7 separate regions of the Homo sapiens genome follow, and regions 1, 2, 3, 5, 6 and 7 are each linked to region 4. The links are contacts of gene promoters, found by promoter capture Hi-C in human tissues and cell types (Jung and others, 2019). All regions are on one chromosome and are shown on one strand. Each heading gives the region's core, a stretch centred on a gene start or on the middle of the fragment in contact. The rest is flanking DNA. Distances are from core to core; before and after follow the strand shown. Region 1 has its middle 150 kb from the start of LINC02554. Region 2 has its middle 170 kb from the start of LINC02554. Region 3 has its middle 10 kb from the start of LINC02554. Region 4 holds the start of MN1 (MN1 proto-oncogene, transcriptional regulator). Region 5 overlaps LOC102724900 (a long non-coding RNA gene). Region 6 overlaps LOC105372981 (a long non-coding RNA gene). Region 7 overlaps LOC105372981 (a long non-coding RNA gene).

The links. The method cuts DNA at HindIII sites, captures the fragments that hold promoters and counts their contacts. A contact is called where the count stands out against the background at its distance.
Region 1: a contact is called between a fragment that was not itself captured here and the fragment with the promoter of MN1 in region 4, in 6 of the 25 tissues and cell types used here (IMR-90 fibroblasts, aorta, dorsolateral prefrontal cortex and 3 more).
Region 2: a fragment that was not itself captured here is called in contact with the fragment with the promoter of MN1 in region 4 in 3 of the 25 tissues and cell types used here (IMR-90 fibroblasts, dorsolateral prefrontal cortex and neural progenitor cells).
Region 3: a contact is called between a fragment that was not itself captured here and the fragment with the promoter of MN1 in region 4, in 3 of the 25 tissues and cell types used here (dorsolateral prefrontal cortex, hippocampus and mesendoderm cells).
Region 5: a fragment that was not itself captured here is called in contact with the fragment with the promoter of MN1 in region 4 in 1 of the 25 tissues and cell types used here (dorsolateral prefrontal cortex).
Region 6: a fragment that was not itself captured here is called in contact with the fragment with the promoter of MN1 in region 4 in 2 of the 25 tissues and cell types used here (H1 embryonic stem cells and spleen).
Region 7: a contact is called between a fragment that was not itself captured here and the fragment with the promoter of MN1 in region 4, in 1 of the 25 tissues and cell types used here (heart left ventricle).

What each region holds. Positions count from the first base shown.
Region 1 is chr22:27,458,293-27,461,659 of GRCh38, reverse strand. No RefSeq gene overlaps it. Among named protein-coding and RNA genes, the nearest start is that of LINC02554, 150 kb to the right of the region's middle. RefSeq lists an enhancer at 1-299. The HindIII fragment of the contact is 4,250 bases long and covers 1-3,367 here.
Region 2 is chr22:27,477,166-27,480,594 of GRCh38, reverse strand. No RefSeq gene overlaps it. Among named protein-coding and RNA genes, the nearest start is that of LINC02554, 170 kb to the right of the region's middle. The HindIII fragment of the contact is 6,915 bases long and covers 1-3,429 here.
Region 3 is chr22:27,298,943-27,302,317 of GRCh38, reverse strand. No RefSeq gene overlaps it. Among named protein-coding and RNA genes, the nearest start is that of LINC02554, 10 kb to the left of the region's middle. The HindIII fragment of the contact is 3,810 bases long and covers 1-3,315 here.
Region 4 is chr22:27,799,491-27,803,071 of GRCh38, reverse strand. MN1 (MN1 proto-oncogene, transcriptional regulator) reads left to right here and starts at 1,316. Exons shown (of 2, transcript NM_002430.3): 1 at 1,316-3,581. The coding sequence starts at 2,529. RefSeq lists an enhancer at 3,250-3,581. The HindIII fragment of the contact is 23,630 bases long and covers 1-3,581 here.
Region 5 is chr22:27,335,810-27,339,353 of GRCh38, reverse strand. It overlaps LOC102724900 (a long non-coding RNA gene), which reads right to left. Exons shown (of 5, transcript XR_430432.4): 4 at 3,092-3,257. Among named protein-coding and RNA genes, the nearest start is that of LINC02554, 27 kb to the right of the region's middle. The HindIII fragment of the contact is 5,238 bases long and covers 1-3,544 here.
Region 6 is chr22:27,506,865-27,510,543 of GRCh38, reverse strand. It overlaps LOC105372981 (a long non-coding RNA gene), which reads left to right. Exons shown (of 6, transcript XR_938124.2): 2 at 1,599-1,795; 3 at 2,575-2,734; 4 at 3,259-3,370. Among named protein-coding and RNA genes, the nearest start is that of LINC02554, 200 kb to the right of the region's middle. The HindIII fragment of the contact is 3,173 bases long and covers 730-3,679 here.
Region 7 is chr22:27,527,179-27,530,878 of GRCh38, reverse strand. All of the region lies in intron 1 of LOC105372981 (a long non-coding RNA gene), which reads left to right. Among named protein-coding and RNA genes, the nearest start is that of CPMER, 190 kb to the left of the region's middle. The HindIII fragment of the contact is 7,230 bases long and covers 1-3,700 here.

The DNA.
Region 1 (3,367 bases), core at 91-2,590, 340 kb after region 4:
GGCTGGGAGGAGAGACTCAGAGTTAAACAATGCCTGCTGCATAGCAGGCATTCCAACCTCATTCTCCAGGAGCTCACAGTCCTACAGAGTACACCCATCCCCAAATATCAACCACCCAGGCAAGGTGGCCAGGACCCTGATTGCTGAGGGCAGACCGGTTTTAAGCCAGACTTGAGCCAGAGCAGGGTTCAAATACTGTTGGTGCCACTTACTAACTGGGTAACCCTGGGCAAGTCACTTAACCTCTGAGTCTCAATGTCCTCATCGGCAAATAGAGGTAATGGCGACACCTGCCTCGTGGGTCAATGTGAGGATCAAATTATTTAAATTATGTAAGGCACTTAGAACAATGACTGGCACATAGTAGGCATTCCAGTAATATTAGCTTTTATTATTACTATGAGAATCATAAGACAAATGAACTACTATTATACTTCCTACCTGGGTTCGGGGGAAAGGATATTTTGGTTGGGGTTTTGAGGAATGAGTAGGAGTTTGTCAAGCTTACAGAGGAACTTCCTTCCAAGGTTGGTGGTACAACATGAGTCAATGTCATTTTATAGATGAGAAAATAGAAGTCCAGAGAGGGGAAGTGGACCTTAGTCATAATTACAAATCCCAAAGAAGAGTGTGGCAAACCTATAGGTTTATGTCAATGGTCACTCTGATCCTGGCCCTGCGACCTCAGGAACAAAAGGGTTAATGGATTGTTTCATTCTTGTGGGAACACAATGGTCTCTGCTTCTCTTGCTTCTATTCAATGTGTCCCTGTTCCCTAAGCTGTGAGCACAGAGTCAGCCATCCCAAAGACTGGGATAAGGATGGACCTGGAGTTGCAGGGACAGCCAGCCACTGGCAAATCTACACAGCCCTTTCTCCAACTGAAGCATTCTTGGCCCGAAAGCAGCTTGCAGATGCTGGAAGAAATGAGGAAAATGTTCCTCGGATCAGCTGATTGGTATTTAGATCTCTCCAGATCCAAAAGTCGCAGCCTCTTGGCAGCCCAAGTGACTCCGAGATGCTGCCAGTTTGCTTGGTCTTTGAGGCTTCTTGGAAGAGTTGGTAGTTTTCTATTTTCTTTCTTTCTTTTTTTGCTTTCTTTTTTCAGTCTTTGAGGCTGCTTGGAGAAAGCTGGTAGCTTCCTATATTCTTTTTACGTTTTTTAAAAAATCTTCTGTTCTTTCCTTTCCATTATTTCCATGCAATGAGGAAAGCTCAGGTAGTAGGAAATGGCTTTTTCGTTCTCTTTCAGCGTAGGGTACCCTCTTCAACCCTTGAGGTCTGTCCACACTCCCTTATGTCAGAGAGACTCTGTGGCGTTGAGAAAGACCACACTGCCTGGGTTCAGATCCTTAGTAATGATTGTGGCAGGCAGGTTCTGATGTGGCTGTCAATGGTCCCACGTGCTGGTATTCACATCATGGTATTCCCTCCCTTTAACTGTGAGCTGGACCTGGTGACTTCCTCCTAAAGAATAGAATACTGCATAAGTGCTGACATGTTAATTCCGAGATTAAGCTAAAAAAGACCATGAATTCCTTCTTGTTCTCTCTGTCTCTGCCTCTGTCTCTCTCTCTCTGTCACCTGCACACTTGGAAGAAGGAAGCTGCTACATTGGAGATGCCTGTGTGACCAGGAACTGTCCCAGTTCCTGCAGGACCCTCAGTCCTACAATCTGCAAGAAATCGAATTCTGCCAGCAAGCAAGTGAGTGAGTTTAAGTCATGTCCTGTTCCAGCCAAGCCTATTAGGATGATACTGCAGCCCCAGACCTTAATGGTAGACTCTGAGAGACCCTAAAACAGAGGAGCCAGGTAAACCTCGATGGCTGACCTACAGAAATCATGAGATACCCGTGCTGTTGTTTCAAGCATCTCTGCTTTGAGGTAATTTGTTACTTGGCATAGATAGTGAATACAGTGACCTTGGGGGAAGTGAGTTCTACCTCCCCATCTGTAAAGTGGGTGCAATGATGTCTGAAAAGTCAGCAGGAAATAGGTGCGGGGTCTGGTGCCCAGGAAGAGTTCAACACAAGAATATTTTATGTCTTAGTTAACAAATATTTCCTAGACCAACCCTGGGTCCTGTGTCAGGTGCTGGGGGCTTGGGGGATGACACAACAATGGTAGCCCTGCCCACATGGACTCAAAGTCCAGTGCAAGGGAGTCATGCAAAATTAAGTAGGAAGTTTCATGAGTTCCTGAGAGCAAATGCCAGGGAGACCTGGCCAAGGCAGGAAGGGCTTCCAGAACAAATGGTTTACATGGAAACTGAAAACGATAAGCTGCTTTTAAATGGCTGGAGAGCCAGCCATAAGCCAGTCCTGCACCCAGGATGTGTGCTGTCTAAATATGGGCTTCCCTAAAACAGACCCCAAGACAGGGATGTGAAGGCAAGTGGCATTTTAGGGGGATAATCCAGGAAGCACTGGTGGGGAAGGAAGGGAGTGAGACAGAGAAGGGAAAGAGCCTATCCAGGGTGCACTAATGAGCAGGTTATCACGTTGAGCAGCTGGAACTCAATCCCACTGGGGAAGTCTGAGAACCAGTGTAAAACACACACCTCAGTTATCTACCCAGGGAGCGAGGGAGCTGAGATATTTATCCTCCAACTCCTGTCCATCACTGGAAGGGTGCTTTTGGAGCATTAACTCCTGGTGCTTCTGACCTTGCCCTCATGCACATCATCTGAGCAAAAGTGCTGGTAGGGAGTTGCAGGTGCTTGCTGTCATGTGCATTCAGCATGCACTGGGATGGTAAGTTTGGGGTATATGCCCACAGAGGCACTGTTTGCATCTGTACCACGTGCAAATCCACAGCAGGGTGAGATGAACAGAACCTCTACTCTGACAATGATAAGCTTTAGCATGATTCCTCCCTGCAGGCTCAGCCCTTCCCAGAGTCCCCACGCCACCTTGGACAGGCATTAAAGGTCATTCCTCAGCTCCTTCCCACAGCCTGACCTTGGCCTCCAATCCTCTCAGAGCCTTGGTCTGACCACAGGACTCTTGTTTACTACCAGAGCTTGTCCCTATTTTGCCCCCCATCCCCATCACTGATGGTTATCTTGGTTACCTGCCTGATGCCTCTTACACTGGGCCCCACATGACACCCCTGGAAATCCCCTCCAGAGTGTTTTCAACCAGATCCAGGATCCTGAACTTCAAAGTATCATCCAGATTCATATCCTGTCATCACCAGGATACATTATCCAAGTACCCTTAGGAGCCTCTCACCTCTCTGAGCCTCCCTGTTTACCCAGAACTGAGGATGGTGAGAGGACCAACGAGCTCATTCCCTTCTAGAATCAATCTTTAACACCAAACTGTGCAGCACTTCATGGATGCCATAGGTACAGCATGGACCAGA
Region 2 (3,429 bases), core at 236-2,735, 320 kb after region 4:
ACCTGTCAGGCATGGGGGAGGGTCTCCTTGGAGCAGGAGTCGCCACAGGCCCAGTGGTTCATCCCAGCCTCCCAAACAGCGGCCCCACTGGGGATGGAGGGATGGCCCCAGTGGCGTGGTTGGAAGCAGGGCAGCTGATCGGGATCCTGGAACACCAACCGGCCAAGTGACCCAGGCAAGCAGCCTTGTGTCTCTCAGCCTCAGTTTATCTGGAAGATGAGGTGATGGTCATGCCTAGATATCCCGTGGGTAGACTGTGGTGAGGATTCAAAGAGATGATGCCCATGAGTGCCTGGCTCAATATACGGTACTTTTGAAAAGTAGGGGAGAGTGGGAATAAAAAAGGTCCAGCCACTTTGGAAAACAGTGGGGCAGATCCTCAAAGGAATAAACATGCGGTTACCCTGTGACCAGGCAATTCCACTCCTAGGTATCTACTCAAGAGAAGTGAGAACACATGGCCACACAGAGACTTGTACAGGAATGTTCACAGCAGCGTTATTCATAAGAGCCAAAGTGTGGACGTAACCCAAATGTTCATCAATAGTCAAAGTATGGTCCACCCATACAATGGGGTATTATTCAGCCTCAAGAAGGAATGTCACATTGACACATGCCACAACATGGATGAACCTTGAAGACATTATTCTAAGTGAAGGAAGCCAGACACAAAACATCATGTACTATATGATTCCATTTCTATGAAACATTCAGATCAGTGCAATCCATAGAGACAGAAGGTAGATTTGTGGTTTTCAGGGGCTGGGGGTGTGGTGGGAGGATGGGGTGATAGCTGAGAGGAACTGAGTTTCTTTGTGGGGTGGTGGAAGTGTTCTAAGCCTGACTGTGGTGACGGTTTCGCTCATATTGTGAATAGACTAAAAATGATTGAATTGTGTGCTGTAAACGGGCAAATTAAATAGTAAGTGAATTATATCTCAGTAAAGCTGTTTTTCTTTTTCTTTTCTTTTTTTTTAAAAAAGCTTTTAAAAAGCTGTTATTTAAAAATAAAAACTTAAGAAGAGGCTCCTGGCAGAGCCAAGACCAGAAGAGTATAAGCGGAACGAGAAAGGAAAAAGGAGGTTAGGAAGAGAGGGAGGAGATAGAGAAACGTCAGGATGGTGACAGGGGGCTGGGGAGTCAGGCCCCATTTCTCTGTGGGCCCAGCCCCTGTGCCTGTCTCCTGGGGGGCAGACAGACTCCCAGTACCGCTGCTGCCAGGGGAGTTCAGTAGTTCCTGCAAGGAGGGAGTCGGGGGGACTCCGCAAGGATGGCTCGGCCACCTGCTTGGTGTGGGCCTCTGGTTAAGCGCCTGAAACACACTCAGCCTCAGCTCCTCACCTGGAAACGGGGGCTTGTGACCACTGCTTCACACAATAATGGTGAGGCTTGAAAGAGGTGGAGGGGGTCAGTGTGCCTGACATGTAGTAAGTGCTCATTAAATGATGGGGGGAGGGAGAGGGAGAGAGAGAGAATTTTATTGACTTTATTTCAGCAGCATCAATTATCTTTTCCCGTACGTTCCACCCAAAGTCTAAAGAAGCAATGAGGATAAAAGGCTGAGAATTAGGGAACCTAAATTCCTGGCTGTCACCTTACGGCCTTGGGCCTCAGTTTGCCTCCCTGCTGTTTTCTTCTTCCTTCTTCCTCCCTCTCCTCCTCCCCACCGTCCTCCTCCTGGTCCATTGTGCCATGCACTTGGCAGTCAATACCAGGTTCTCGCCCTCCCCTCTGCCTTCCTGGGTGTTGCTCCAGGTGTGTCACAGGTGCTTAGACATAGTCATATGAGGCCCTGGACTCAAGTCAGGAGGACCTCCCCAGTCAGGGAGACACCTGGCCTCCGAGCAGTGCCCTTGTCTTCAACTTGGCATCTGTCAGGGGCTGGGACCATCCTATCCCTGGAAAATCTACCCACCCTCTAGGCAGAGTTCCCCAAGTAGAGGAATCCCCATTGCCTTCCTTTCTGGACCCCCTGATACAGCTGCAAAAAAAAAAAAAAAAAAAAATTTCCCATCCAAACCAATCCAAACCAAACCAATCCAAACCAAACCAAACCAAACCAAACCAATCCAAACCAAACCAAACCAAACCAAACCAAACCAAACCAAACCAAACCAAACCAATCCAAACCAAACCAAACCAATGCAAACCAAACCAAACCAAACCAAACCAACCCAAACCAAACCAAACCAATCCAAACCAAACCAAACCAAACCAATCCAAACCAAACCAATCCAAACCAAACCAAACCAAACCAAACCCATCCAAACCAAACCAATCCAAACCAAACCAAACCACACCAAACCAAACCAATCCAAACCAAACCAAACCAAACCAAACCAAACCAAACCAAACCAAACCAATCCAAACCAAACCAAACCAAACCAATCTGAACCAAACCGAACCGAACTGAACCAAACCAAACCAAAATGGCCCAACACCAAAAAAACAGTGACTGTTGCTTTGAATGCTGCCATTGTGTTGTGTATTTTGAAGCCACCTCTCAAGTGTTGTCTTCTTCTTTGCTGGAGCCACATTCCGACTTGGGACACTCCAACCATCCCCTGTTGATCTGAATGAGATGGAGTCTCACTCTGTTGCCCAGGCTGGACTGCAGTGGTGCGATCTCGGCTCACTGCAACCTCCACCTCCTGGGTTCAAGTGATTCTCCTGCCTCAGCCTTTCGAGTAGCTGGGATTACAGGCATGTGCCACCACGCCCGGCTGATTTTTTTTTTTTTTTGTATTTTTAGTAGAGATGGGGTTTCACTGTGTTAGCGAGGATGGTCTTGATCTCCTGACCTCGTGATCCACCCGCCTCGGCCTCCCAAAGTGCTGGGATTACAGGCATGAGAGACCGTGCCCGGCTGCTTGTGAGTTTAAAACTCATCCCTGCCCACAGGCAAGAGAGGGCACAGAGAGGCAGATGAAGCCCTTTGAGGATCAGGTCAAGGAGAAAGTGGCTCCTGGCATTGAATTCAACCCCAGGGGCTGGGTGGGTGTGTTTTCAAAAAAGCTCCTTCCCAGCACTCTTTATCTATATTTTTACCTGGCTTAGATTCAGCGCCTGGACCTTTGAGTTTTTCCCGATAGGTGCTGGGTCTCAGAGCTTCCCCCGGAGGGGCACTGTCTGCTGATGGAAGAAATGTGTGGAGCCCAGGTTAGCCATGATGTTGCCGAGGGCGGTGGACAGGCCTGAGGGCCATGGTCGCAGCTCTGAAGGGCAGCAGGGGTGGGACCACAGGGGGAGCTTTGGATGTGGGGACAGCCTGGGCTAGGATGGCAAAGACTGGTATGTCCAGGAGTCACACACCGGAGGTCCTGGGATGGCTGGACTCAGCCCCAGCCTCCCATTCAGAGGCCATCCTTGGCTCCTCTGGCTGCCTCATGAAAGACAGCCCCCAGCCCAGGCAGCATCTCCTCTCCCCTT
Region 3 (3,375 bases), core at 161-2,660, 500 kb after region 4:
CTGACCATTGGACACCTGGTTTACGGTACAGCTGAGCCCAACTCAGACCCCAGGCTCTTTCCTCTGCCCAACTTTTAGCCAAAGCCAAGTTTCAGAAGATGGCGCCTCTCTTCTCCCAGGTATTCAGGCCAAAACCTTGGAATCATCCTTCCTTGCCTTTTCCAGCTTCTGGTGGCCCCAGGAGTCCCTCACCTTGTGGTCGCATCTTTCCAGTCTCTGCCCCCATTTTCACATGTCTGTCTCCTCTTCTTCATGTTTTTGTGTGTTCTCTCCTCTTCTTACAAAAACACCCATTTGCTTGAGGCCAGGAGTTTGTGACCAGCCTGGACAACATCGTGAGACCTGTCTCTAAAAAAAACCCCGATATTGGCCAGGCGTGGTGGCACGTGCCTGTAGTCCTAGCTACTCGGGAGGCTGAGGTGGGAGGATTGCTTGAGCTGGGGAGGTCAAGGCTGCAGTGACTGTGATCATGCCATCACACTCCAGCCTGACGACCTGGGTGACCGAGGGAGACCCTATCTCAGAAAAAAAAAAGAAAAGAAAAAGAAAAAAGAACATGAGTCATTGGATTTAGGGCCCACCCTAATCCAGCGCAACCTGATCTTAATTTAATTACACCTTCCAAGACCCTGTTTTCAAATAAAATCACATGATGAATTTCCAAGTTGATGTGACTTCAGGGGGCGGGAGGGCACTATTTCACTCACTACAGTAGGGATAATTTTTTTTTTTTTTTTGAGATGGAGTCTTGCTCTGTCGCCCAGGCTGGAATGCAGTGGCGTGATCTCGGCCCACTGCAAGCTCCGCCTCCCGGGTTCACGCCATTCTCCTGCCTCAGCCTCCCGAGTAGCTGAGACTACAGGCACCTGCCACCACGCCCGGCTAATTTTTTTGTATTTTTTAGTAGAGACGGGGTTTCACCTTGTTAGCCAGGATGGTCTCGATCTCCTGACCTCGTGATCCACCCGCCTCAGACTCCCAAAGTGCTGGGATTACAGGCGTGAGCCTCCGCGCCCAGCCCAGTAGGGATAATTTTTTAGGGTAAGTCAGCCAGCCCTGGATTTTATCTGCTGGGGCTAACGTCCCAAAGATCATAATAGTGGCTATAATATATGTAGAAAGCACCTAACTCTGTGCTAGGCCCTGTCCCAAGCATTTCTATATGTTACCTTGCTTCATCTTCAAAATAACCTCATTAGTTGGCACATTAATCCCATTTTGCAGATGAGAAAACTGAGGGCCAGAGAGTGATATGCCCAAGGTCACTGAGCATGTAAAGGTTTCCCAGTAGCGATCAGCACTGACCATAGGCCCTGACATTCATATCTTACTGTCTGGAGCCAGGCTAGGGCAGGCAGGGCTGTCACTTGTCCCCACAGCCCACGGAGCCAGATGCCATCTTGATGAAGGGAACAAGAATGGATGCCATGGGTGCAGAGCCATGGGGAGGGGGCATTGCCACCCGGTGGGCGCCCAGCCGCCCTCCCAGGCATAGCTCCTGTCGCTGCTGCCTGGGCCTGGCGCAGGCAGCCCGCAAGTAAACAGTGTCTGAAACCTATTCTCATTAGGCTAATTTACGAATAAATTACCATATTCAATGGCCTTATTTTTACTGCTCGTTAACAGGCCCGTGATAGGATGATAATTACGGGATTTTAAGTGGCTAATGGCAGCTGGGGCGTCAAAAGCAGTTTTTACGAATCTGTTTATGGCAGCGAAGGTGACAGGAGGGGAGGGACATTGAAATGTTGAAATCACACTTTGAGAAAAAAAAGCTTTAATTGTTGAGTATTTATTAGAGAGGAGGGAAGGCTGTAATTTAAAAAATGAAACTCTGAAAAACAAAGGAAATTAATTCGTCTTCCCCCCTGTGCTGTGACCTTCAGGGAGGGGGCGAGGGGTGGGCAGGATCCCAGGAGAAGGGTGCCAAGTTCAGGCATGAGTCTGGGAGGGTCCTTCCTGGTTTCTGCTGCCCCTGCAGGGAAGGCATCCCGGGGCCTGCGATCTTGGCTCAGAGGCCCCTCTGGGATCCAGGGAGGGATCCCTGAGAGAGGTAAGAGCCCAGCAACCCGAACGCAATGACAGTGTGGGCATTTGATTCATTCTTTGATCCTGATAATCGGGATCAGATCTCATCCATTCCAGCTCCCCTGCTAATATTTTACATGCATTATTTCATCCAACTCTTGCAAAAATGTGGAGAGCTAGTAATTATTCCTAACATATACTGAGTGCTCATATATGCTTTCTGGGTATTAATTCACTTAAACAGATACCCTCGTGGGATTGGTCACTATTGTTATCCCCAGTTACCAAGGAGAAAACTTGAGGCACAGAGAGGTTAAGTAAGCTGCACACAGTCACACAGCGAGGGCCCGGACCAGCATCCGTCTGGCCCTGCTTCTTTTATCACCTCCCTCTCAGTGAATCCCTGGCTAGCTGGTGGGGTGGGCTTAGGGCCCCAGGCGACAGAGGAGAAAGCACAAAGCCCAAAGAGGTTAAACCGTGTACCTGGAATCACAGAGGCTGAGTTCAAAGGTCAGCCTCTCTGAGTCCAGACCCGCCGCTGACTTGCCTTGAAATGGGACTCATGAGAGTGGAGGTGAGGAGAGGGCATCTTGGAAAAGGACGCCGGACATTTTGGTGGGGTGATTTCGGGGCCATTGCCCCGCCCTGTGAGCTCTGTGGGTGCCTCTCCTGGGTCCGGCCTTCTCTTCCCCACCTGCCTGGCCTCCTCCCTGCCGTCCTCGGCTCCTCATCTCCCGGCCACTGGGCCGATCCATCTCGCTCCTCCGCTTTAGTATGCAGCCCTCGGAAAACAAACACGCAGCAGCCTGACAGTGGGAATAAATATCGTGGCGATGTTGATTAGCATTTGATCCCAGCTGGGTCTCTGGGAGCTGAAGTACTGGAATGTCTTGGCAGTTTTTTAATGCTGAATAATTTGATTAGATCAGTGACTGAGCCTGCTGCTCCTGGTGAGATAAACCCTCCCCACATTACAGGGGAGAGAGGGGGTGGACCGAGGGCGCGCATCTGAGCCCCCAGACTTCCTGCTCCTCCACCAGCCCTCCCGGCAGCGTCGTCTGCGCGGCCTCCCCCTCCCCAGCTCGGCCCCCTTCCTCTCTTCGTCTCTCTTCCCTGCACCCTCATCTCTCTCTTTCTTTCTCTTTCCTCTTCCTTCCTCCTCCGCTATTTTTCCTCTTTTCCTTCTCTCCTGGGGATATTTGTCTCTCTCATTTCTTTTTCTCCATCTTTTCGTCATTTCTGCCTGCATGTTTCATCTTTTTTATTTCCTCCCTTCTTCTTCTCTTTCTCCTTCTAAATTCTCAATTCTCTGTTTTCCGTTCACCCCTTCCTCCTTCCTTTTCTCCC
Region 4 (3,581 bases), core at 67-2,566:
TTATTTAGATTTAATAGCGATATCAGGGGCACTTCAAAGAAAGTTCTTTTTTCGCCCTTCTCCTAAGAATGCGAATCTGCTAGCAAAATCGCCTCGTGCTATTTTATGGCAAGGAAAATTAAAGGCCTTCTCCCCCCTCCTTCCCTACACACACTTTAGGGAGGAACACACACACACACACACACGCATGCACAAACACACGCACGCAGGCGCGAGCACACGCACACAGGCGCACAGAATAAACACCTCTATCCTCCATCACCTCTAACTTCCAACTTCTAATTGCAAGATAGATTTCAGCCTCTGTGGGGATCAGGACGATCTAAACATTTTAACTAAGATTATTGGGATAAATATTTCATAAAGAGCAGGGCAGATATTAAATTACTCCTATTGATTTTAGTATCACAGCCCAATTCCATTCCTCGGCCTCTTCAGTTTAATTGATCTCTTAAGGAGGCCAACTTCGCACCCGCAGAGGGTCTGGGTCTTGGACCGGGTGGCCCAGGGCAAGGTGTGCGGCCCGGCGGGTGCGCCCTCTTCGTGCGTGTCTTCTCGGGGTTCCCAGCCGCCTCGCAAGTCGCTCCGGTTACTGGGCTCAACCGATGTGCTCCCCCATAAAGTGGCTGAGTGACTGTGACTCCTTGGAGCCCACGCCGGCCGGTGAGAACCGGGAACCCCAGGCAGTGGGGAAGGGGAACAATTGTGAACGCCCTAGTGACGGAGGAGTGAGCAAGCGCCCAGGTCTCTCGAGGAGAACCCTAACTTCGAGGTTCCCCGTCTGCTTTACCCTCCAAGAAAATCCCAGGGCCGGCTAACTTGGGCGCCGCTAGCGGAGAACGGAGTGTTCACCCCGGAGCCGAAGTGCAGTAGACACTTAGCGACTTTCCGTGGCGAGTCTAGGGTCTTTGCCTGGCGACCTCATTGTCTGAGCGCCCCGTACCGCTCACCGCCCACCTCCCCGCCCCCTGCCCACCCGGTGGGTCTCGCTCCAGTTGGGGGTGGGGAGTTGGGAACAGTGTGAATGGGAAGGGGGTGAACAAAGCCAAGCTCCCGCCATTCTCCTCCGCCTGCACCCTCTCCAGCTCGATGCGCCCGGAGGCCGGGGCGCGCCCCCAGCGCACTGACGCCGGACCCCGAGGAGAGGCGGGCGCAGGGGACCCCAGAGCTGGGGTAGTGCGGGTTCGTGGCGGGGGCTTCGGCAGCCAGGACCCCGGACCACCTTAAGAGCGAGCCCCGCCCCGAGCCCGGAACTTGGGCGGCGCTGATTGGTGCAAATGTAATGGCTGAAATTGATTGCTGAAATGCAAAACTTGTTGCTGCTTCTCCCGGCGCTGGGCGAGAGGCAGACACAGAGAGGGGAGCCGAGACCCTCGGAACGCCCCACGCAGAGCCCCCCCGCTAGTCGGGAGAGGGGTGCGCAGACCCCCCAGAGCTGCCCCCGCGCCCCCCTCCCCCCATTCCGGGCTCTGAGAGCGCAGCGGGAACGCCTTAGCCTGCTCGCCCGGCGTGGCCCCCCGACCCGCGTACGCCCCCCTCCCTCAGGTCCGAGAGGGACTCGCGAAGCACCTCAGCGCGGAGGCAGGGAACCGGAGCCTTGGAGCGACCCAACCCCTCGTCTCGCTGCCCTCCCGCGCCTGCAACGGTGCGCGGAGACTCCGGCGAACTCAGACACCCAACGGCGGAGAACAGAAGCGGCAGGCGGCGGACGTGGCCGCGAAGCTGCGCGCCGAACGCAGCGCACCCGCTGCCGAGCAGAGGAGCCGCGCCTTTCCCCGACCCTCGGCTCCAGCCCCCGGCGCCTGCCGCCTCGCAGCCCCTCTGCGTCCTCGGCTCGGGGGCCGGCACCGGCGATGCCGAGCGGAGCCTCCAGTCCTCCGACCCGCTGAAGAAGCAGCAGCCGCTCGCCCGGAGCCTACGGGGATTGTGCGAGCGGATCGTGCTCGGTGGAGGCTCGGGCTGCGGGGCGCGGGGACTCCGGGGGGCGGGGGGAGGGACCGCTCTGTCGGTGCCCGGCGCCAGCCGCGGCTTTGAAGGGTCTCCCTCCCCTGCCCTTAGCAGCTCTGCCACGGACTCCGGGAGGCTGCGGGCGGCGTCCTGAGGGCTCCCCAGCAGACCCAATCGGACTTGAGAAGGTGATCGCTCTGCTCTCCCAACCCCCTTCCCTCCCCATTCCCCCCACTTAACTTTTTGTCTCCGTTCATCCGCGGCTTCGTCCCCTCCCCGCAGACCCACCCGCGGCTGTGACAACCGCCCGGGGCATGGGCCCCCCAACACGGCTCCTAGAGGCCCCGCGGCCTCGCAAGATGTGAGAGGCCCTCCCCGGGCAGAATCGGAGCTTCAGGAGAGGAGCTAATACCCCGCCCCCCGTCCCTCACATCAGGCGGGGTGGAGGTGCGCGCTGAGCCCCCGCGGTGCTGAGCGTCCCGGAGCGCCCAATCCTGGGCTGGAACGAGTAGCTGGCCGGAGGCGCGCCGCGGAGAGCCGGCTGTCATGCCCTATTGATCCCCCTCTGCCCCCCGCCAAGTATGTTTGGGCTGGACCAATTCGAGCCCCAGGTCAACAGCAGGAACGCTGGCCAGGGCGAGAGGAACTTTAACGAGACCGGACTGAGCATGAACACCCACTTTAAGGCCCCGGCTTTCCACACTGGGGGGCCCCCTGGCCCTGTGGATCCTGCTATGAGCGCGCTGGGCGAACCCCCGATCTTGGGCATGAACATGGAGCCCTACGGCTTCCACGCGCGCGGCCACTCGGAGTTGCACGCAGGGGGGCTGCAAGCGCAGCCTGTGCACGGCTTCTTTGGCGGCCAGCAGCCTCACCACGGCCACCCGGGAAGTCATCATCCCCACCAGCATCACCCCCACTTTGGGGGCAACTTCGGTGGCCCGGACCCCGGGGCCTCGTGCCTGCACGGGGGTCGCCTGCTCGGCTACGGCGGCGCAGCCGGAGGCCTGGGCAGCCAGCCGCCCTTCGCCGAGGGCTATGAGCACATGGCGGAGAGCCAGGGGCCTGAGAGCTTCGGCCCGCAGCGACCGGGGAACCTCCCGGACTTCCACAGTTCAGGTGCCTCCAGCCACGCCGTGCCGGCCCCATGCCTGCCGCTGGACCAGAGCCCTAACCGAGCCGCCTCCTTCCACGGCCTGCCGTCCTCCAGCGGCTCCGATTCCCACAGTCTGGAGCCACGGAGGGTGACGAACCAAGGAGCCGTCGACTCGCTGGAATACAATTACCCGGGCGAGGCGCCCTCGGGACATTTTGACATGTTTTCGCCCTCTGACTCCGAAGGGCAGCTGCCTCATTATGCAGCGGGTCGCCAGGTTCCTGGGGGCGCTTTCCCGGGCGCCTCGGCCATGCCCAGAGCTGCGGGCATGGTGGGCTTGTCCAAAATGCACGCCCAGCCACCGCAGCAGCAGCCCCAGCAGCAGCAGCAGCCCCAGCAGCAGCAGCAGCAGCATGGTGTGTTCTTTGAGAGGTTCAGTGGGGCCAGAAAGATGCCTGTGGGTCTGGAGCCCTCAGTGGGCTCCAGGCACCCGTTAATGCAGCCTCCCCAGCAGGCCCCGCCACCCCCTCAGCAGCAG
Region 5 (3,544 bases), core at 437-2,936, 460 kb after region 4:
ATCAAACTCCATGGAATAGAAAGATGGGGGCAGAAAATCAATATCTACAAGCAGGAAAAACAGAATGTTACTTGCATTCTCATATTCTAATATCTTGAATCCTTAATCAAACCTATAATCTAAAATTCAAAAGAGGGCTCAGGGAAAACAAAGACTGCTTCATGCTCAATAGAAGCTTGGGCCCTGGTTGAAGTGCATTGTGGTTTTGTTCTATGAAGTCAGGAAAAGAGAATGAGATAGAGGAAACAGCAACAACAATATCTAGCTACCATCAGTTGAGTATATCCAATGTGCCAAGTACTGTGCATGCCATTGAATCTTTATGACCTTAGCAGTGGGTGTGATTCTCATATTCACGGGGAAACTGAGGCTCCAAGAGGTGAAGTGACAGGCCTTTGGTCATAAAGTGGGTAAATGGTGGGGCCAGGCAAAGCCAGCTCAACTGATTTGCAAAACCTCTCTCTTCTCCTCCATCCCAGGCTGTCTCTGGTCCCATTGGTTACTCCCTTCCCTCTGCTCACACATTGTCTTTGTCCATGAAGTATTACTATAACAGAATGCCTGAGACTGGGTAATTTATGAGGAACAGAGATTTATTTCTTACAGTTCTGGAGAATGGGATGTCTAAGATTGAGGGGCTGTATCTAGTGAGGACCTTCATGCTGTGTCATTCCATGGTAGAAGGTGGAAGGGCGAGAAAGAGTGAGAGAGCAAGAGATTAAACTTGCAGCCTCGAGTCAGCCCTTTTATAATTGGCATTAATTCATTAATGAAAGTGGAGCCCTCATTAAACACCTCCCATCAGGCCCCACCTCCCAACACTGTTGCATTGGGGATCAAGTTTCCAGCACATCAACTTTGGGGGACACATTCAACCTGTAGCACCCACCTATTAGAAATCTTGGGCCAGGTGGGGTGGCTCATACCTGTAATCCCAACACTTTGGGAGGCCAAGGCAGAGGGATCACCTGAGGTCAGGAGTTTGAGATCAGCCTGGCCAACATGGCAAAACCCCGTCTCTACTAAAAATACAAAAATTAGTTGGACGTGGTGGTTTGTGCCTGTAGTCTCAGCTACTTGGGGGGCTGAAACAGAAGAATCACTTGAACCTGGAGGGCGGAGGTTGCAGTGAACCAAGATCGTGCCACTGCATTCCAGCCTGGGTAACAGAGTGAGACTCTGTCTAAAAAAAGAAAAAATAAAAAAATCTTGGCTCATACCCTTTCAAAGAGCAATTCCAGCAAGTCTGTTTGGCCACAGCCCTTCTGCTCTTGTACCTAATTGGTTGGTCTTTGGAAAATGGAGTGACCCCTGAGAAGTCAAGGTGGACTCTCAGTAACAGCTTGAGCCTGGTAAGTTAGGAGACCTTTTTGAAATTGGATTGCAACCATATGAGCTCATGTGACCCATGGGAGAGGACTTGGAGGAGGGCTAGTGGTAGTGTTGGTGACATCAGGACCCCTCACACACGCTGGCCCTTTGCACATGCTGTCCCACTGCCTGGAATCTCCTCCCCGCACACCTCATCATTCTGAGGTCACAGCCTCACCTTCTCACTCTGGCCTCTCCTTGTTGCCCCCACACCCATTCTCCTCCCCTGCCTAGTTTCCTTCCATATTACTTGATACTTTCTAGAGAATTATATATTTTCCTTTATTTCTTTGATCATTGCATATATAGACCATAGTTTACTCACTTGGCTTTTACTGATGGCCAGTTATGTTTTTGGTCTTTGGCCAGAAGGAGCATCCTTATGCATATATCTTTGTCCACCGTGCAGTGATTTCCTTAGGATGAAAAAGTCCCTGGTGATGGAATTGCTGAACCAAAGATACCCAGTATCTTTCTGATGTGGTACCTTATGACTTAATATCAGCTGTTCAATCCAGAGGAGGCCTGTTAAAGTGAGTTTTTGTATGGACTTTAACTAACCACGCTTTGACTTGCTCTCTTGTTAGGAAGAAGTGTGGCCTGAGCCTAGTGCCATGGTTGTCAATTGGAGCAATGCGCACAAATCTTCACTCCTCCCTGAAACCACAGTCTTTACCATGTGATTTTGCAGAGCCCTTCAACACTGACTCTGGACCACGCACATGACATGCTTTGGGCAACAAGATGTCAGCTTATGGGATACATAGGCTTCCAATATGCTTGTTTGGATGGGCTTTCTTTCTCCTGCTCCTTGCCATCACTGCAAGACGTACATGCGTAGGCTACCCTGGAGGATGAGAGATACATGGAGCAAACTGAGATGCCAGAATCATTCCCACTGAGGCCAGTCTCAATCAGCCAACAGCCAGCCAAGCCCTGGGCATGAGTAATCCCCAGCAAGATCAGCAGAACCACCTGGCTGAGCACCCTAAATGCACAAGCAATGCAAACTTATTGCTGTATGCTGCTGAGGTTTTGTGGTTTTTTTAAAAAATGTAGCATCAGTCAATTAGCATAAGTCAATAGATAACTAATACACAAGGCATGACAGTGAAACCAATTTTCTCACTGCTCTACCAATAGTAGGGGCTTTTGCAGTCATCCTCTGCAGGCCTGGGCATATTCTAAAATAACTCCATTGGTATGCACATTTGTAAAAATTTTTATTCTGCTCATCAGCTGGGGGACTTGCTACTGCTTCTTGGAAGAGGCAGAGCCCTAAGTAAGATTTTTGAAGGAGAGAGGAGGTTGGAAGAACTTGAAGGTATGCAAAGTGATGAATGACGTCAGGCTCATGACCACTGAGTTGTGTTCTAAGCTCCTTGCCATCCAGGCTTACCCCGCACGGTTAGGGATTTCTGATGAGAGAAAGCAAGGGAAGTCATCTACAAAGGCAAGTGTTAACCTTGAAATAAACTTGCATGGGAATTTACCGTGTTAGTTACCGGCATGAAGGACACAAAATAACAAAGAGGGAAAATTTATCAACCACAGTTTTGCAAAAAGCCATGCAGTGGTGTGGTTAAGAGACCTGGTTAGGGCATCAGCATGTCTTGGCATGAATCCCAGGTCTGCTACTAATTTTTGTGACTAGGGACTGATGCTATAACCTCTCCGGATCTCCTTTCCTTGAATGCACAGCAGGGGTAAAAGCACCTACCTCGTGTGTGCTCGGTTGCAGACTTAGAGTCCTTCCTTGGAATGCTTTGCTCTGCTCTTCTTGGCTTGTTGGGCTCCCCGAGATCTCCCTGGAAAACATCTTCTGCGCTGGGTGTCCCCTTTTTATAAATGCTCCCATGGGGAAAGTTCTGATTCATCCACTCCAGCTAAATGGGTGAGACTCAGAGGGATCAGATGGAGAAGCTGGCTTTGGGGAAGCCTCACACTCTTCATTAGTCAACAACAAAGATAACAGCTACCAGGATTTGAGCACTTACTTGGATTATCATAACAGCCCTATGAAGGAGAACCTGTCATGATCACTCCCATGTTACAGGTGAGAATTTGAGCCTTGGAGAGTTGAGTCATCTGCTCAAGGTCACACAGCCAGTAGTGCAACTCAGGTCTGCCTAAGTCTGAGAGGTATTATCCAAGACATATACCAATATACCAT
Region 6 (3,679 bases), core at 1,067-3,566, 290 kb after region 4:
TGTTTTGTCATTGGCAACGTATGATGATAATAAGGACAGCACTGTTTTCCAGCACCACTGTGCACATCCAGCTGCATAATTTAATCCAGACTGCCGGCACAGGGCCTGGCACCAGATACATTTTCAGTCCATGTGGATTCCTTTCATCTCCTGAGTTCAGGCTTTGAGTAGTTTGAGCATCCTCCTCTCTATCCTTTACCCAAGACAACCACCCGCCATGGACAACAGTTTGAACCAAGAGGGTTCATCTAATTTTAAGCCCTAGTGTGTCACCAATTTATTTTGGTCCATGAACTATTGCTCGCACCTGTTGGCATCTTGGAATGCAAACTCCTTCTAATTTTAAGCACCAGCAGGGGCAGGTCTAATTTTGGGTGGCCCTTGTGCCGGGGGCTCCCAAGGGAATTCAAGCTCTGTTGTTTGGAGCACCTGGGGTGAAGTGGGTGCCTTCCAGAATAGATTAGGGTTGTGATATGTTCAAGAGGGACCCACACAGTTTGTATCCACACAACATTAACTACAATTTTCTTCAGGACTTTTATTGTGGCAGGTCTTGTTCCAAGTCAAGTGCTTTTCATGTATTATTGGATTACTTTTACTTTGAAGTGTAAATCAGCCAACACGGAGTGCTTACTATGTGCTAGGAGCTGGAGATGCAAAAATGAATCTGACATAGTCCCACCTGCAGAGAACTCATGATCTAGTGCTCACAGGCACGTAAAAAAAAAAAAAAACAGTTATAGTGCAGTGAGATCAGAGAGCCGTACAGTGCCTGGCACCCAGCTGCCTTTGAGGGAATGTCCAGCAAATGAATGGAAGCAATGTTTGTGATAGAGACAAGATAAAGTTGCTGCAAGAAAGCAAATTCCCATTCTCCTTGGGAGATTAGCAGAAGGTTTCACAGAGGAAATTATACTCTGAGCTAAGTCTTGAAGAAGATAAAGTGTTTCTCCAGGTGGAGAAGGGAGGAGGATGTGGCATGTATTTTAGTGCTTCACCCACATTGCTCTCAGCACAAAATGTTTCTATGTGCACCTGGCCCATTCCAATGGCCAACACCAAATGCTCTTTGTCTGAGGGTTTTTCTGGTCACCAGAGTTTGTTTGGTCCTTGTGAGTGGTAGGCAGAGAGAGGCTGGGAATTAACACTCCCAGGAAGCCCTCAACTGCTAACAGATGGAGTTGTTGTATCAATACCCCAGCTCCCTCCCCACTCAGGTGGAATAACATTGAGATGTATATTCTGCAGAATCTCCCAATGTTCCCCAGTGGAATTGAGCCCTAGTTGCCCATGGTGGTAATTGCCATAGATAATGCATCCTGTATGGCTGGCTTCTTCCTTATCTCCTTTTCCCACTCTTCAGCAAGGGCTTTCTGCACATTCCGAGTAAACTGCTGTTCATCTGGGGGCCAGCTTTTGGGAAAATCCAAATCAAGACAGTGAAAGAAGCATGGATCACCAACGTGACACATTCCTGAAATGTGATGAGTGATATATTGTCAATGATTAGGCTAGGTATCCATCATCACTGGCCATTCCCATTCTGATCTGGTTTGCAACCAGCCCACTGGGGAACATCATCAAATCTTATTTTGCAGGTAAAGACTCCAAAGCTCAGAAGAGTAAGTTGACTTGCTCAGAAACACAGAGCCAGTGGTTGTGTGGTGCAGACAAGAAGCCAGGAGTCTGTGATTCAAGGCCAGGAATACCACCATGTCTTGCTGTATATCTTTCAGGACTCTGTGACTCAGTTTTTCTGCAGGTTACTGTATGATTCTCTGGAGCAGGGTACAAGGTATGTTTCCACTGTGTGCCTCCCCTGTCCCTCACCCACAAGCCATCTTCTTCCCTTGGGGCAGCTGACACATCTCACAGGCCCTTGGAACAAGGTCGGGGACAGCCAGGAGGGTGTGTGTGTGTGTGTGCGTGTGTGTGTGTGTGTGTAGGGGGGTGGCTAGTTTTGTGCCAGCAGCAGGTGCTGCTGTGCAAAGAGCTCCAGCCCTGCTGGATGGGGCCTGGATGCTGGCTTCTCTGAGTAGTAAGCAATCAATTGATGAAGTGTGGTTGAGTGCATTCAAAACGCTTGGGGACAGTGGGGCTGGGAAGATTCTCTATAGCATGATAGTATTTGAAGAAGCCAAAAAGAAGAGTAGGAACTTCCATGAGTAACAGGTTGGGAAATTTCCAAGGGAAGCTGTAATGGGCATTTGTCTTTTCCCCCCTCCTCTCTGACTAATTTGTTGCTTTGGGATGCATCACCCCTCTCTTATTCTTAGCCCTGGGGTTGGGGTTAGAGTGAGAGTGGAACTCACTCTCCACTGCAGGGAGTGCCCTGATTGGCTTATACCAGTCATCATTTTCCACTGTCAAGTCGTAGTGATTGGTTCAAGGCTAGACCATGAGAGCCCATCACAAGCCAAGGAGATGCAAGAAGGCATCTGCTGGGATTTCTAGAAAAGAGACGCTTCCTCTTTCTTCTACTTAAGAGTGAGAAGTAAAGATATAATCTCTGTGATAGATACGGTCAAATTGTTACCAGGTCAAGAGACTCTGGAGCTTCTGTGTTCCTTATAGGAGACACCTTGAAGCTTGCTGGATGCCTCAGAGGGAAGTGAGAGAGAAACAAGCACCAGAGAAGGCAGAGTGAGGAAACAGAGAAATTGGGACTTTGGAGACATTGTTTGAGCTGCTGGACCAAGCCTTGCCTGAAAGCAGCATATCTAGACTTCAACATGTAAGTTAATATATTTTTCTTTTTTATTGGATGAGGGTTAGGTTTATTGAGGTATAATCTACTCATGGTAAAATCCACATTCTTCAGTGTATAGTTTCATGTATTTTGACAAACACATATAGTCATATAACCACTACCACAAATTGGAATATCAGACAGTTCCATCAACCACTCCCACCCCATCAAATGTTCTTATAGCCCCTCCCTGTCCTATGTTTTTAAAAAAGATTTTGGCTTAGGCCAGTTCAAATTGGGTTTTCTGTAATGTGCATACCAAGTGTCTGACTAATAAAAGTCCCCAAGATCACCCCCTCCCTCCTTTCCTTCCTAGCCCCTTTTGGAAAAGATTAGTTAAATGTTTACCATGCCCCAGACACTGTGCTAGCCCCAGCCCTCAGTCCCACTCCTCTCTCCAGCAATCAGATTGGGTATCCCCATTTAGGTTTGGAGGAGATGACTGCCAAGAGAATAACCTGGTTTGCTGGAGTGGGGCTGCTGGCCAAAATGCTGTTTGTTCCTTTCAGCCCCACTCTGAGGAGCTTCTGGGAGAGTTGGCTAGGTCTTTCCCAAGCCTGGGAAGCAGAAGCCGGGGCAGATTAACAATGCCAATTACTAAGATCCTGCAGTCGATGAAAGGTTGGTGTTTTGCAGCCACTTCCTTAGCTGGACAATGAGGGAGCTGACCTTTCTGTGCTCAATAAACCAATTGCCACTAGAGAGTAGGTTCCCTGGTGACCAGGAACCAAAAGCCAAGTTGCAGATATCATTTCTGGGGGGTGGTGGCAGGGGGAAGGAGAAAGGAGATAGGTGCTGGGGGTTGGGAAGCCTGGGTTTCGATCCTGCGCCACTATGTGGCTTGGGGCAGTCACTCCCTGAGCACTTCTGCACTTAGTAGGCACCTGCTGTGTGCCTGGACCCTGTAGACCAATGTCATTTGTGGTCATC
Region 7 (3,700 bases), core at 701-3,200, 270 kb after region 4:
ACCTTGGCAGCTTGCTGCTTTCAAAGCTGTCAGGAAGCAAGAGATTCCAGGAAGATGGGTGCTATAATCTTAAGTATGTAATCACACACATCTTGTCAATTTGCTCTATTTTGTGGATTAGAAGCAGGTCACAGGCTCTTCCCACATGCCAGGAAAAGGGACTGGCTACATAAGGGCATAAACATTAGGAGAAGAGTCTGTCTGCTGCAATGGCTCACTTATTCATTCAGCTAGTATTATTTTTTATTTTTCTTTCATTTTTTGTAGAGATAGGGTCTTGCTCTGTGGCCCAGGCTGGAGTCCAGTGGTGCAATCACAGCTTGCTAGAGCCTTGACCTCCTGGGCTCAAGTGATCCTCCTGCTTCAGCCTCTGGAGTAGCTGAGATTACAGGTATGAACCACTGCCCCCATCTCAACTAGTACTATTGATAGTAAGCAAGATAGATGTGGTCCTGCCCTCAGGAAACTTCTATGGAGCAATGCGTGGATCCTGTGTGTGGGGTTGGGACAGTCCCAACTCTGATCTTGCTGTGAGACTTTTGGCTTGACATTAGCTCTCTGGGCCTCCCTTGACCTATTTGACCAGTGGAATGAATACCACAGAGCTATCCCTGGCTCAATGGTGATGTGAGGGTCCAGTCATCATGGACCCTCCATCATTTATCAAGTGGGTATGGAATACCAACTACTAAGCCAGTGCTTTACCAGTGCTGTCTCAACCCTTACCACAGCCCATGTGCAGGGACTTTAACCCTGCTGTTGGCTGTGACCCTCATTCTGCTACCCACAAGAAAATACGTGCAAATGGCCTCTGGAAGGAGTCGGAGGATGCCCTACTATGTGTAAAGAGGAAGTGGGGCAGAGAAGGAGTTAAGAAGACAGGTGGTTGTGATGGAGACCTGCTGTGAGACCTCTTTGAGGCCTTGGCCCTGAAAAGAAACGTCTCCAAGCATCAGTCTGACAGACATCTCCAGAACAAAGAGGATACTGGTTCCTACCTCATGGAGTAATATGATGGTTAACTATGTTTATGAATAGAAATTCTCAGAACCATGAGAACATGGTAACTACTCAAAGAATGGTGGCTTTTGTCATGAAACACCTACTGTGCACTGGCTCCGTGCTGGGATGTTTTATACTGAGCCTGCCGGCCTTCAAGGTGTGAGGCTCTGAGATGAAAAAATGTGGCCTTGGGGTTGAGAGCAGTGATAAAACCTGGCTGTGAGCTCTCCTGGGATGACTTTTTGGTAAAGACAGAGCCTTCTGGTGGCAGCCAGGGAATGTTCTAGGTACCTGACCCTGAACAAACGTCTTGCCTGTGAGGCCCCTCCTCCTGGCACTCAGGCTAAACCTAATTTATGAATGAACCCATCCCCAGTACCTAGTCAAGTGTGGCCACAAAAGGCCCCACAGGAATTGCTGCTCGGGGCAGAGGACTCTGGTCTTCTATGAGCTTATCAGGCTCCTTCTAGGTTGAGCCATCCATGGCTTCCCAGTGCCCTTGAGAAAAGTGCAGAATCCTGCCAGTGACTTGCAAGGGCCCATGTGAACCGGCCCCTCTGGTCTCTGAGGCCTCATCCTCTAGCTTGGTCTCTCTGGTTTTCTCTGCTTCAGCTGTTCTAGACATCCTTCCCAGAGCTGCAATCGCCTGACTCAGGGTCCTTGTGTGCGTTTCTCTCCTTCCTTCCCCTGGCTGGCTCTCGTTTACCCGAAGTGCCTCTTCCATGTGGAAGCCTCCCCTGACCTCTGTATTAAGTCTCACGCTTTTGATCCCAGAACGCTCTGCCTTCTCCTCTGCAGCAGGTTGCACACTTGGACTCATATAAGTGATCATTTGGGATCATTTGTTTGCTGTTTCCCTCCGAAGCTGTGAGTGGCATGTGGGCTTGTTATTCATGGTGTCCCCAGGTTTGGTACATCATAGGTGTACAGTTAGCATATGTGATGGAGTTGATTGGGTTCCTCTGATGGCCAGAAACCACCCCAGTTTTCCCTGCTTGGCAGCTTATGGTGTCAAATACACTCTGAATGTCAGGGTAGCAGGACCTCAAAGGGTGGCAGATCCCACTGCCTTATCAACAGATGGGGAAACTGAGGCATGGAGCAACGAGGTGATACACAAGTTTGGGAGTCAGGCACACATAGGCTCCTATCCCTGCCCCATCATTTAGTCACAGTTCATGCCTTAAAATACGTTCATTTCGTAGTCCTTAAATATGCAACTGTGATAGGATCCTTATAGGAAATTGGAAAAAAATACAAAAGCTATATCTAAAAAAAATCTAAATCTGAACATTATTGCCTCCTAAAACTTAAACCCCCCAGTTCAGAAGTCCCCGTGCCAGATATAGCAGCCCTAGGGCAAGCTACTCCTTTTTATCCGCAAAGAAAGCCCTCTTCAGTTCCACCATCCGGGGCTGAGTACCCCTCATGTGGAAGTACTTCCTTCCAGTCTTTTGTTCTAGGTCTAATTTTTTGCATAGATGAGACCTGCTGTTGATGTGTAATGTTTTTATTTCCTTCTAATGACAAGTCTCCCTTGAAGATGGGGCCCACCTTCTGTATGTGCCCAACTCTCAGGGCCTAGGACAGAGACCCACACGTATAGGTATCAGCAAGCATCGTCTGATAATTGAAGGAATGCCAGAGAAAAAGGGATCCAATCACAGATGACTTTTGGAAAGAGGCAGCCTTCCATCTGAGCCTTGGGGAAGCTTCCCTGGATGCAGGAGAGGTGGAGGCACTTCCTGGCAACTTCTGGGCAGGGCTTGGTCTGAACTTTACCAGTCACTGGGTATCCCCCTAAACATGTACATATCTGTTTTCTCTTTAAGGTAACAGAGGATGCTTTTTGGAAAATGCTATTTTCCAGCACAATCACTGCTGGATTGGCAGGGTGAAGTTCGAGGCCACGGTGGAGTTTAGAAGTAGAACAAGCACTGGCTTTTGAGTTGGGGGGACCTGGATATGCATTCTGGCTTGGCTCAGTCTGGCCATGCAGAGCTGTCCTCATGGACACCACATCGGGCCCCACGCTTGACCTAATGCTCGGCTGTTGTCACCTTGCAATTCTTGATAATTTTTGAACAAAAGTCTCCATGTTTTTATTCTGCGCTGGGCCCCACAAATCACGTAGCTGCTCCTGTGGCCGTGGGAACGTGGAAAAGTCATTTAACCTCCCTGGGACCTTAACTGTTGATTTGAAAAGGAAGATAGTCCTCTCAATCTCACAGTGCTGCTGTAACAATTACAATTACAATCTCATATACAGAAGTAATTACTATAAATTGCATTGACTGCACACGTGCTAAGTGCTTGACACTGATGACTCTCTCCCAGTCGCCCTGTGAAGAAGGGGGTGATTACCATGCCTGTTTTATAGATGAGGAAGCTGAGGCTAGGAGTGGCAAAGTTGCTTGCAGGATTTCAGTGGTGGAGTCGTGAATTCAACACTATTGAGAACCCATTGGATGCCCAGCTAGAGCCTGCTGCTTGCCCACAGGGCTGGTGAAGCGGGTGCATGGCCAACGGTGGTTGCACAAAGTAGGTGATTGGTAGGTGCACATCCTCCTTCCCAGGACACAGGCATTGGCAAGCATGTGTCCCTAGAGCTGTCTCCCCCCTTTCCTTTCTGAGCCTGGAGCATGGAAAAACCTCAAATTTCTAACAGCTGTTGAGAGAACAAACTGTCTCTAAGGAG